Linked DNA regions of Homo sapiens: all the other regions are linked to region 3. Evidence: promoter capture Hi-C in 16 types of primary human blood cells and fetal thymus (Javierre and others, 2016). All regions are on one chromosome and are shown on one strand. Each heading gives the region's core, a stretch centred on a gene start or on the middle of the fragment in contact. The rest is flanking DNA. Distances are from core to core; before and after follow the strand shown.

Evidence for each region. The method cuts DNA at HindIII sites, captures the fragments that hold promoters and counts their contacts. A CHiCAGO score of 5 or more calls a contact.
Region 1: a contact is called between the fragment with the promoter of ATP5MC2 here and the fragment with the promoter of ITGB7 in region 3, in 1 of 17 cell types (neutrophils). The highest score is 6.0, in neutrophils.
Region 2: a fragment that was not itself captured here is called in contact with the fragment with the promoter of ITGB7 in region 3 in 2 of 17 cell types (fetal thymus and total B cells); the score reaches 5.6 in fetal thymus.

Annotation. Positions count from the first base shown.
Region 1 is chr12:53,674,205-53,677,375 of GRCh38, forward strand. ATP5MC2 (ATP synthase membrane subunit c locus 2) reads right to left here and starts at 1,879. Exons shown (of 5, transcript NM_005176.7): 1 at 1,849-1,879. RefSeq lists enhancers at 1,581-2,030, 2,141-2,370. The HindIII fragment of the contact is 5,549 bases long and covers 1-3,171 here.
Region 2 is chr12:53,472,911-53,476,353 of GRCh38, forward strand. All of the region lies in intron 14 of PCBP2 (poly(rC) binding protein 2), which reads left to right. Among named protein-coding and RNA genes, the nearest start is that of PCBP2-OT1, 10 kb to the left of the region's middle. The HindIII fragment of the contact is 206 bases long and covers 1,321-1,526 here.
Region 3 is chr12:53,205,466-53,208,766 of GRCh38, forward strand. It overlaps ITGB7 (integrin subunit beta 7), which reads right to left and starts at 1,786. Exons shown (of 16, transcript NM_000889.3): 1 at 1,737-1,786. The HindIII fragment of the contact is 16,923 bases long and covers 1-3,301 here.

The DNA.
Region 1 (3,171 bases), core at 629-3,128, 470 kb after region 3:
AGGTGGAAGTGCACCTGTAGTCCCAGCTACTCCAGAAGCTGAGGCAGGAGGACTGCTTGAACCCAGGAGCTGGAGGCTTCAGTGAGCTATGATCACGCCAGTTGTCCAGTATGGGCAACAACGTGAAACCCTGTCTATAAACAAACAAAAAAGATCTCTGGGAATAAGGCTCAAGTGCCCTGTATTTCAAACAAGTTTCCCAGATGATTATTAGGTATACTTAACGCAAGAGCGTGACCCTAAACCCAGTCTTGAAACTGTGGTAGTGGTAGAGGATAGACTTGAACTTGGATCTTTTAAGTTACATGCTTTCTAATATGTCACAGGCTGAAATACTCAGTGAATGCTTAGGGCTATTAAATACCACTTCATTAAATGAACTGAACTCAGATTGTCCCAGGTTAAAACACTTCTGAATCCAACATCTTAATTGCTCTTAATTTATTTTTTGCCCAGGCTATTGTGGAACTCCTGGCATCAAAAGATCTTCCCACCTTGGCCTCCCAGTGTTGGGATTACAGGTGTGAGCCACCACACCCAGCCTTAATTACTTTTAAGTTAATGGATGTCTTCAACTCTTGTCCTATCTAGAACTCTGATTTTTGCCTATATGTAACTCTAACCCAATTTTGCTGCCGTACTATTCAGGTTTTCTTGGGTCAAAATCCAATAGTTCTTTAAGGCTTTTAGAAAAAGAAGGGGTGGTTCTTTTCTAAGGGAATTATACCTTATTATCTTCTTTGTAAAATGCAGCTCTTAGGGGGATTAAGTATGTTCATTTACAAATTAACATACATAAAGAGTTTAATGTGGTGCTGGCATATAATAAACCCACAACAAGGGGTGGCAATTAAGTGATCCCACCATTGGCTATCTAACCATGGCAACTCTGCAATTGTTAGCCTACAACTTGGGCAAAGGCACTATCCAGAATCAGGACTCCAAAATCATCACGGGCTTTTTCCTCAGTGTAGATGAGTCACAGGGGTAGTAACTTAACTATTCCTTTCCTTAAACCTTCTTTTCCTTGTAACAGCAGAATCTGGGGAGGTTAATTAATCCTTCACAGGAAAGCTGGCAGGCAGGGTCTCATGCTGGCCCCACTAGCTTGGCCTTACCCCACCTTTCTGGGCCTGCTGCCTCAACAGAAACCCTCATCTCTAGCCCACCATTTGTGACTTTTACAACTTCACCAGCGTGCCGGGATGCGAGAAAGGTACTGGTAAATAACTAGTGATTCCAAAGCAACCAGCCTCTCTCTTCTGCCTTAGCTATCCCAAGCCACAACCTAACGGGAGGCGATGTTTTGGCTTTTTTTCCCACTTCTACCATGTTCAAGGTTTACTTTTTAAATTGAGGGGTGCTGACTAGAGGGATTGGTGACTTTAGACGATCCACTATCTCCATTGCTCGGAGCACCTGAGGTTCTGGGGCCTAAAGTCTGGAGATTTCAGAATAAAGAAGGCACAAGTCAGGATGAGAAGAGAAAGCAGAGATAGGAGGGGAGAGCCTGGGGGTTGTCACAATCTGAAAGGGCCAGAGGGCGAGAAAAGAGTGTTTGCAGGGACTGGGTGGAACAGGTGAAAAGCAGCACTCCAGGATCTAACTTTGGCCAGCTCCAAGGTATCCTCCCCCTGCGAGACATCCAAGATGGCGCCAGGCCCGCGCGGTTGGAGGTCACCGGCACGCGGAAGAGCCAACTCTAAGGCTAAGGGATAGCGGAAGCAAGAAAGGGCGAGAGGACCAGGGTGGGAGCACGCAAGGTAAGCGCCTCAAAGCATCCGCGCAAGGTGAGGTGTCCCGCGCGCGTGCGCAGCGCACAGAGGGCTCTAGGTCCCAAGGCCTTACCTGCTCCCACTGCAGAGAAGACAGAGAGGGGCGGAGCAGCGGGAAGAGCGAAAGGAAGGCTCAGCGCATGCGTGACCCGGGCCAACGAGTCGCTCAGCCACGGATAGAGTGATTGCAACATACAGGATCAGCTCAGGCATCACAGCGCCGCCTGCCAGGGCTGTGGCGGTATCCGGCCGGTTGCTCCACCTGGCGTTCGAGAGGAGAAACTACAGGGAGCGCCGACTGCAGAAATGAGGCCAACTCCGCGGAGTAAGCCGATCCGTAACGTGGACTGCGGTTTGGTCTGTACCGCGTTTGGGATCTCGGACTTGCGTCCCCTTTCCGAGCATGCGCAGTCGTCACACTGCCAAAACAAAACTCCTACTCAGAATTCAGTGTTAACATACGGTCGGGATTGGGGTTCAGTGCCTAAAATGCAGCAGGAGGAAGATCTTGGGAGTCCTGCTTTCTGTCGCGCCGGGACTCTGGCATCACTGGATGGCAAACCGGCTCCATGGGCGAATAGTCAGCAAAATGCCGCAGCTGCTTCTGGTGGCTTCGCCCTTTCCCCCACTCCCCGTTTCCTCCTTTCCATTCCGGTGATAAACCATGAGAGAAGCAGCATCAGCGAGCCAGAAGATAGGGTTAAATATGATCCGAATCCCTCTTTCCTGGCTCCTGGGACAGTCTAGGAATAACGGGCACCTGCGACCCGCTGTAAGGTTGCGAGGTCACTCCAGGCTTGCCCGAGCCTCTGCTCAGGTTTCAACTACGCGAGTTGGGATAAGCAGCGCCCTCCCCTCCCGCCCCCATGCTCTCCTGAACGTGGGTTTTCTCTCCCCTTTCGCTCGCCCTTCCCCTGATGGAAGGAGGTGGGGGAGGCTTCCTGGCCCTCATCTTTCCTAGGCCTCCTTGTCTCCCAGACAGGACCTGCCCTGCCCTTTGGAACAGGGCGACAAGGCCTATCCAGTTCCAAACCCCTGCCGTCCCTGCATCGTGCTTGAACGCAGCACGAGAAAGACGGGAAAAGCTCACCAAACCCCATAAAAAATAAAAAATAAAAAGAAAGCCGCGGCTGTAAATAAAGGCAAATCCGCCACTCTCTGAGGGGCCGTTTGTCCTCCCCTCCTTGGCCCCGTCCTTCCCGCCGCCCCCTCCCGGCTCCCGGGCCCCGCGGCGCCCCGGCCCCGAGCTCCTCCATTTAATCGGATTTGGGAGAAGGGGAGGATAAATCACGGCAGCAGCTTTACGGTCCCGGAGGAGAGGCGAGCCGCAGACAGGCACACCCCGGCCGGCGATAAAAACCGCCGCTGAAAGCCCACGGAGCAATTTCCCGGGACC
Region 2 (3,443 bases), core at 174-2,673, 270 kb after region 3:
AGGTCCTTAATGTTGAGAATGAAATGGTAGTAGTAAACTTTTGCACCAAGGTTGTTTGCAAAGAGGTCTTTTTCTTTTTTAGAGATAGGGTTTCATGTTGGTCAGGCTCGTCTCCAACTCCTGACCTCAAGTGATATGCCTCCCAAAGTGCTGGGATTACAAGAATTGTTTTTCTTTCTTTTTTTTTTTTTTGAGACGGAGTCTTGCTCTGTCACCAGGCTGGAGTGCAGTGGCTCCATCTCGGCTCACTGCAACCTCTGCCTCCTGGGCTCAAGTGATTCTCCTGCCTCAGCCTCCCAAGTAGCTGGGACTTACAGGCACGTGCCACCACGTCCAGCTAATTTTTGTATTTTTAGTATAGACGGGGTTTCACCATGTTGGCAAGGATGGCCTCGATCTTTTGACCTTGTCATCCACCTGCCTCGGCCTCCCAAAGTGCTGGGATTACAGGCGTGAGCCACTATGCCCAGCTTGTTTTTCTTATTTGTAATTAGGATTTTGGAGGGCAAGAAGTTTTCAGTTTTCAGTGGCAAGAATCAGGTTTTTGAAAGCTGGAATTTGTTTTGTTCTTTCGATAGGCTTGCCCTTCATGTAATTTAAATTGTGACTGTTTAAATGTGACCTGCTTGCCTAGCTCCTGCAATAGGTCAGTGGCTACATTGTAAGGAAGCAGAATTCTCTTGGTAGAGTGGCTCTTTTCAGGATCATTGTTACTGAATAGCAATTCGGTATCTTAGCCATGGATTAGGGTCAAAACTTTTCAAAGCTTCATCTAACACCAAAGCAAAGATTATGCATGCACAAAGCTTATTCTTTCTCAACTTGGTGCAGTTTAAATGCAGAAGTCAAAGGGTTTTTTTTTTTTTCCTTTCTCATTTTTTTTAAGTCAAGAAGGATTTTACTGGATTCTGAGCATTTTCTCCTGTCTCTTGATTTTTCATGGTGGCAGTCTGTCCTTTTATATAGTTAGTTGACTTCTGTATCCCTTTCCTTTATGGATTGCAGCTGTCCTTGGACATAGGTAAATAAAATGAGGTTTTAAGAGGAGCCTTTCTGCTCTTGAAGACTTAGCGTTGTGGGCTCAATTGTCCAGGCACACTTCCCAAATATATGTAGTTCTGGCTTAGACACATACAGGCATTTGGGAGACATGTACCCTTACTGTTCTGTGGAGCTTATTTTGGGAGTGGAAGCAGCAGCATTTTCGCTTAAGTATGAATTTTTAGGTGATACTTGAGTTTCTCTTTTCCACTTCTGAAAGGTCCACATTAGAAGTATGATCAGTCAGAAACAACTTTTTATACCACCTCCCACCAGAAAAGCTTCCCTAGTTCTTATCTACACTTCTGTTCTCAGCATTTTTCTTTGAAAACGCTACATTCTTTGAAATTTGAAATTAGTCAGTGACCTACTTTGGACTCTTGTCTCTTTCCACCCTGATACTGGTTTGTTTGCTGTGGAGATGTAAGCAGACTTTAATACATAGCTGGAAGGATTTTTAAAAATTCTGCTTTATAAATATTCAAAGCTTCACAAGTAATTGTGGGATAATTGATTTTCTGTTAGAATAGGAAATTGACATTTGATTAGAGGAAACATTTCTTCCTTGTTGGGTGATTGATGAGTATCTTTTTCTACCCGAAATCATTCCTTCAACATCTGGGTTGGGTCAGTGTGTCAGATACATGAAGTATGTGCCCTATGATTTCTTTTCTCTGTCAGCTTTTTCTTCACCATAGCAGTTTTTAAGTAGCTCTGTGGAATGGAAATATACATATTTAGAGGGTGGGACATAGGCTAAAAGAAAGCTTGTCACAAGTTGACACTAGGTCTTCCTAATTGTCAACCAGAGGCACTTACTGATATAACTGAAGCAGTTTTTGTCCTGTACTTACTCCCTTTTGTGGTCTTCCCTTCCACCCACCCTTTTTTTTTGTTCCTTTTTTCCTCTGTTACAGTTTAGAAAACGCTAAACCCTCCTCCCAGGCAGCCTCCGTCACGATCCCTGATCACCTCAGCATCAACCTCTCTCAACCCTCCACCCCTTCTTCTTCTTCCTCCTCCACCACCACCCCCTCGCTCGCCACAGCGGGGACCTCCGACGCACCCTCCAGCCTCCCCAACCCTCTTCCGACCGCCCCTTGTGTCTCCAGTCTGCTTGGCATGAAACCCATCCCTCTCCTGGCTCTAAATGTTGTGTCTGCTGCTAAGGGTACCGGGGCTTCAGCTACCACCACCACCACCTCTGCCGTGCCATGTGTAACTAACAAACTGAAAGGCGAGAAACAGAGATTCTCTCCCTACTGATTGCATACCTTGAGGCACCTCCTCCAGTATTATTTTGTTCATTTTGTTTTCCTTTGTTAACATTGGTGAGAATGAAACTATTGTGAGCTTGTTACCGTTTCCTTTTTACTACTTTGGGGGATAACTGGGTGGGGGTGGGGGAGTGGTAACCCTTGTTTAGGTTTAGGCCATTTCAGCTGAGTGCCTGTTTCAGGGTCTGACTTGAATTCTTTATCTAGAGCCACAGTTTTCTCTTCTTTCTTGTTTGTTACTTTTCTTTGTAGCTTTATTCTGCCTTGCAATATAACAATGTGTTAGGCTCTGTGTTAATGAATAAAAGCTGCTTCGTTAACTTTTTTTTTTTTTTTTAAGAATTATTTAATGGTTAAGCTATCAGCAGGCCTTCTTGGCCATATTTGTGTTTCTAGCTGTAATAAAGTTGGCGCAGTAAGAACCTTAGTACACTGTGTGCTGTGAAGGGTAAAGGGTTGGGGGCTTGTGACTTGTGGCTATTCAGCTAGGAAGCCTGTATAACTGACATGGGCTTTTTGAATCCCAAGTGAATTTTATAGTCGTTTGTCAATATTTCCACAAAGAGATAACGAGTCTGTGGCAGTTTAGATCCTGAAGGTCCTCTGTAATTGGCAACAAGCTTCACTAGTGAGGAAGTTTATCTGACTTCTCAGATGGCCTTACCTTGCCAGCAGCAGCTAACAAGGTGTTCATCCCAGGATTCCTCTGGTGAATGGTTACCATGAGGATCTCTTCCAAGTCATACATTCAAAGAACATACTTCTTTACCCAGAATGAAGGGGAGGGGCAAAGTGGGATAAGTCTAATAAAATTAGGCAGCTTCTGTCTGCATTCCTCTGAATTAGCATTATGCCTCTTTCTGTGACATTAGGTATATCTCAGCCAACCCGTGACATTATCCACAACTTGACATGATGCCATCCACTAGTCCTAAACCAACTCTGTCAACCAAGTTTCTTTACCCTTTTTTCTATTCCTGGCCGTATCCTTTCTGCTCCCCACCAGCACTATCAGGAGTAGGAAGTGACATGCTTAGATTTGGAAGGAACCTTAAGGATCAACTAATCTGTAACACATTGATCCCCTCATTTTACAGATTAAAAAATAGAGGCCCTAAGATAATT
Region 3 (3,301 bases), core at 536-3,035:
GGCGTGAGCCATCACCCCCAGCCAAATGTCATGTATTTATCATTTCACACGTCTGCAACTGAATCTGTAGGATAAATCCCTAGCAGAGGACGTGCAGGATAACTAGATAGGTATCATTTGTAATACTGGTGTGTATTTCATCTACATTCTCATGCTAAGAAATATATATATATAGGTGGGTATTGCCAACATAAACTCTTCAGGACTTGTACTGGTCCACATTCCCATCAGCAATGTATGAGAAAGGCCAACTAACTCCTTGTCATAAACCATTTGCATCTTCTTCAGCCTGGGCCCAGAGTCAGGTCCAGATACTCTGCACAGAGTGTGGGAAAGGGGTGGGGTGTTGAGTCCTTGAATGTCCTGGTCCTGCTCCCCACCACCTGTGACCTCAGGCGCCATATATAACGGAGCCTCCACCCCTCGGGGAGAGGCCAGTCCCAGCTCAGCCTCAGCGTAACCTCAGCCCTGCTTGCTCTGCATGCCTGTGGTCAGGGAGGCTGGAGATGCTGCAACCCAAAGCCGGGTTTTGACTCATCTCTCACAAGTGGAGCCCCGGCTGCCGCATAGGTTTTTCAGAGACCTTAGGCCCACTCATCTCCCCTTAAAGGGGGCCCTGGGACTTCCTGGACAGCCCTTTCCTACCTTTCTTTCCAATTATCCTCTCTTCTCCCCTCCTTGAGAATACATGTTCTGCCACCTATTTCTCTGTCTGCTTCTCTGTCTCTCTCTGGCTCCTTTCATTTCAAAACTTCTATTGCATCTCTCTGCTGCTTTTCTCTGCTCCACTTCTTCATAGGGCTATTTTACTTCCTTTTCCCCTCTGTTCCTAACTATAGAATGGCTGAATCTACTACTCCATCCCACTCTTTTTACAAATGGAAACCTAAATTCCATGAGGCCAGGGTCACCCAGTGAACTAGGGGCAGGGCAGGACAGGGCAGGGCCAGGCCTCTGCTGTGCTTTCTCCTTTCCTCCCTCCAACCCAGGCACTATCTCCATCAAAAGTTGTGTTCTCTCCCCACTAGCCCTGGTGGGCTCTGCCTAATCCCATTTCTCTTTCCTTAGGGGTATTCTGCAGTCTTCCCTTCTCTCTCTGGGACCAAGTGGTTATTTCCATTTTTCTGGACTCCATTCTGACTCCAGTACACACCCTGTGACCCCCCTCAGCAGCTGAGAAACAGAGCCTCTTCCAAACCCATCCCTACCTTCCAAATCAAGCAGAACCCTCTGCTGCCCACTGGGAGTCACAAGGAGGGGACGGAACTGAGCTGCTGGGCCTCAGTGTCCCAGGACAGTGGAGTCTGTGACCAAGGTGCCGATTAGGAAGAAGTCTGAGCTGAAGGCAGAGCATTAGGGATAGCAGCTGGGGGTGATGTTGGAAGAACCCTCCCTCAGTATAATCGGTATACCTGCCCTACTTCGGTATAGTCCTTGGCACATGGCAGGCACTCAGATGACAGCACTCATATACATCCCTGCCTCCAGACCCACTCATGGGAAACTGATGCAGGAGAGATTGGGCTTTTGGAGAGGTGGAGGTGGGGGTACTGTGAAACTGGAGGAGGGAACCAGGTCAGGGGATCTTAGGAATGCAGAAAGGAGTTCAGAGCCTTTCTCAAGTCTGGACAGGACCCTCGGTATCCAGGTCAGAGCCCTCTTCCCAAGAGGTTGGGACCAGGTGGGCCAGAGCTTGTAAGGAGAGGAGGCAGAAGGGCTGGTGCCCTGGTACTCACAGGTGCGTGCAGAGCAGTCCTTCCTCTGGCGGCAGCAGCAGCCTTTGTGTACTGATCTGGGAGACGGCAGAGGAGGAAGTGACACTCCCCAGGGTGGGGAAGATTTGGGGTTGGTGGGGGTGACTGATCTAGAAGGTGGTGCAGATAGGGGTGGGGCTGAGCCAAGGGAGTGGACAATACAGAGATCTGGAAGAAAGAAGCCCATTTATTGAACCCCTGTCATGTGTTGAACGTAACATATTACAATTAACCCTCACAACAATCTCATAAGATAGGGGTTAATATTCCCCCAAGCCCCAATTTTACAGATGCAGAGATTGAGGCTTGGAAGCAGGAAATAAAGAATTTTGCCCAAGGTCCCACAGCTAGTAAGTAGCTAGTCTAGGATTTAAAAAAAAAAAAGAAAAAAGATTTTTATTTTAAATTTTTATTATTTTATTTTTTTTATTTTAATTTAATTTAACTTTTGAGACAGGGTCTTGCTCTGTTTCCCAGGCACAATCTCAGCTCACTGTCCCATGGCACAATCTCAGCTCACTGCAAACTCCGCCTCCCAGGTTCAAGCGATTCTCCTGCCTCAGCCTCCCGAATAGCTGGGATTACAGGGGTGCACTACCATGCCCAGCAACGTTTTATATTCTTAATAGAGACGGGGTTTCACCATGTTGGCCAGGCTGGTCTCAAACTCTTGACCTCAATTGATCTGCCCACCTCGGCCTCCCAAAGTGCTGGGATTACAGGTGTGGGCCACCATGCCCAGCCTGTTTTTTATTTTTGAGACAGGGTCTTGCTGTGTTGCCCAGGCTGGTCTGTAACTCCTGGACTCAAGCAATCCTCCCACTTTGGCCTCCTGAGTAGCTGGGATTACAGGCACACTCGGCTGGTCTGGGATTTAAATCCAGGTCTGCCTGCCTCCAAAATTCATGATCTCTCCATTTACTTATATAGGAAGGAACATGATAGGAGGGAATAGGGGCAGTAAGTACTGTAGAGAGGCCAGAAATTACAGACTTGTTCATTTTGAAAACCCAGGATACATTATATAAGTGTGCTTGACTACATAGGCTCTGGAGCCAAGTTGCTAGAGTTCAAATCCTGGCTCTACTACTTACTAGTAGTAAGGAGCTTAGCTGAGTTACTTAAACCTGCCTGCAGCTGTTTTCTCATCTGTCCAGCAAGACTCACAGGATTGTCGTGAGAATTAAAAGAGATAATTCATATCAATTGCCTACAAGACTACCTGGCACATACTAAGTAAGGGCTTGATAAGAGAATTAGTAGGGATGAGAAGTAGCAGAGGTGAGAAGTGAAGAGGCTTTGAGAAATTCAAGGTCCACACAACTGGAAACTTGGAAGAGAGAGGCATAGGGCCAGGCTCAGAGCATGTGATTGGGGAACCAGGAGCCAACACAGTAGTGGATCCTGGGAAAGGGGTGGAGGAGGTGAACTGGGAGAAGCAGAGAGTGCAGGAACAACAGCTGAAGCCAAGGCAAGGATGAAGCCCGTAGGGAGAGCAGGAAAATATTAATGGGATTTGCTCCTGGCCCATACAGATCACTAAGAGC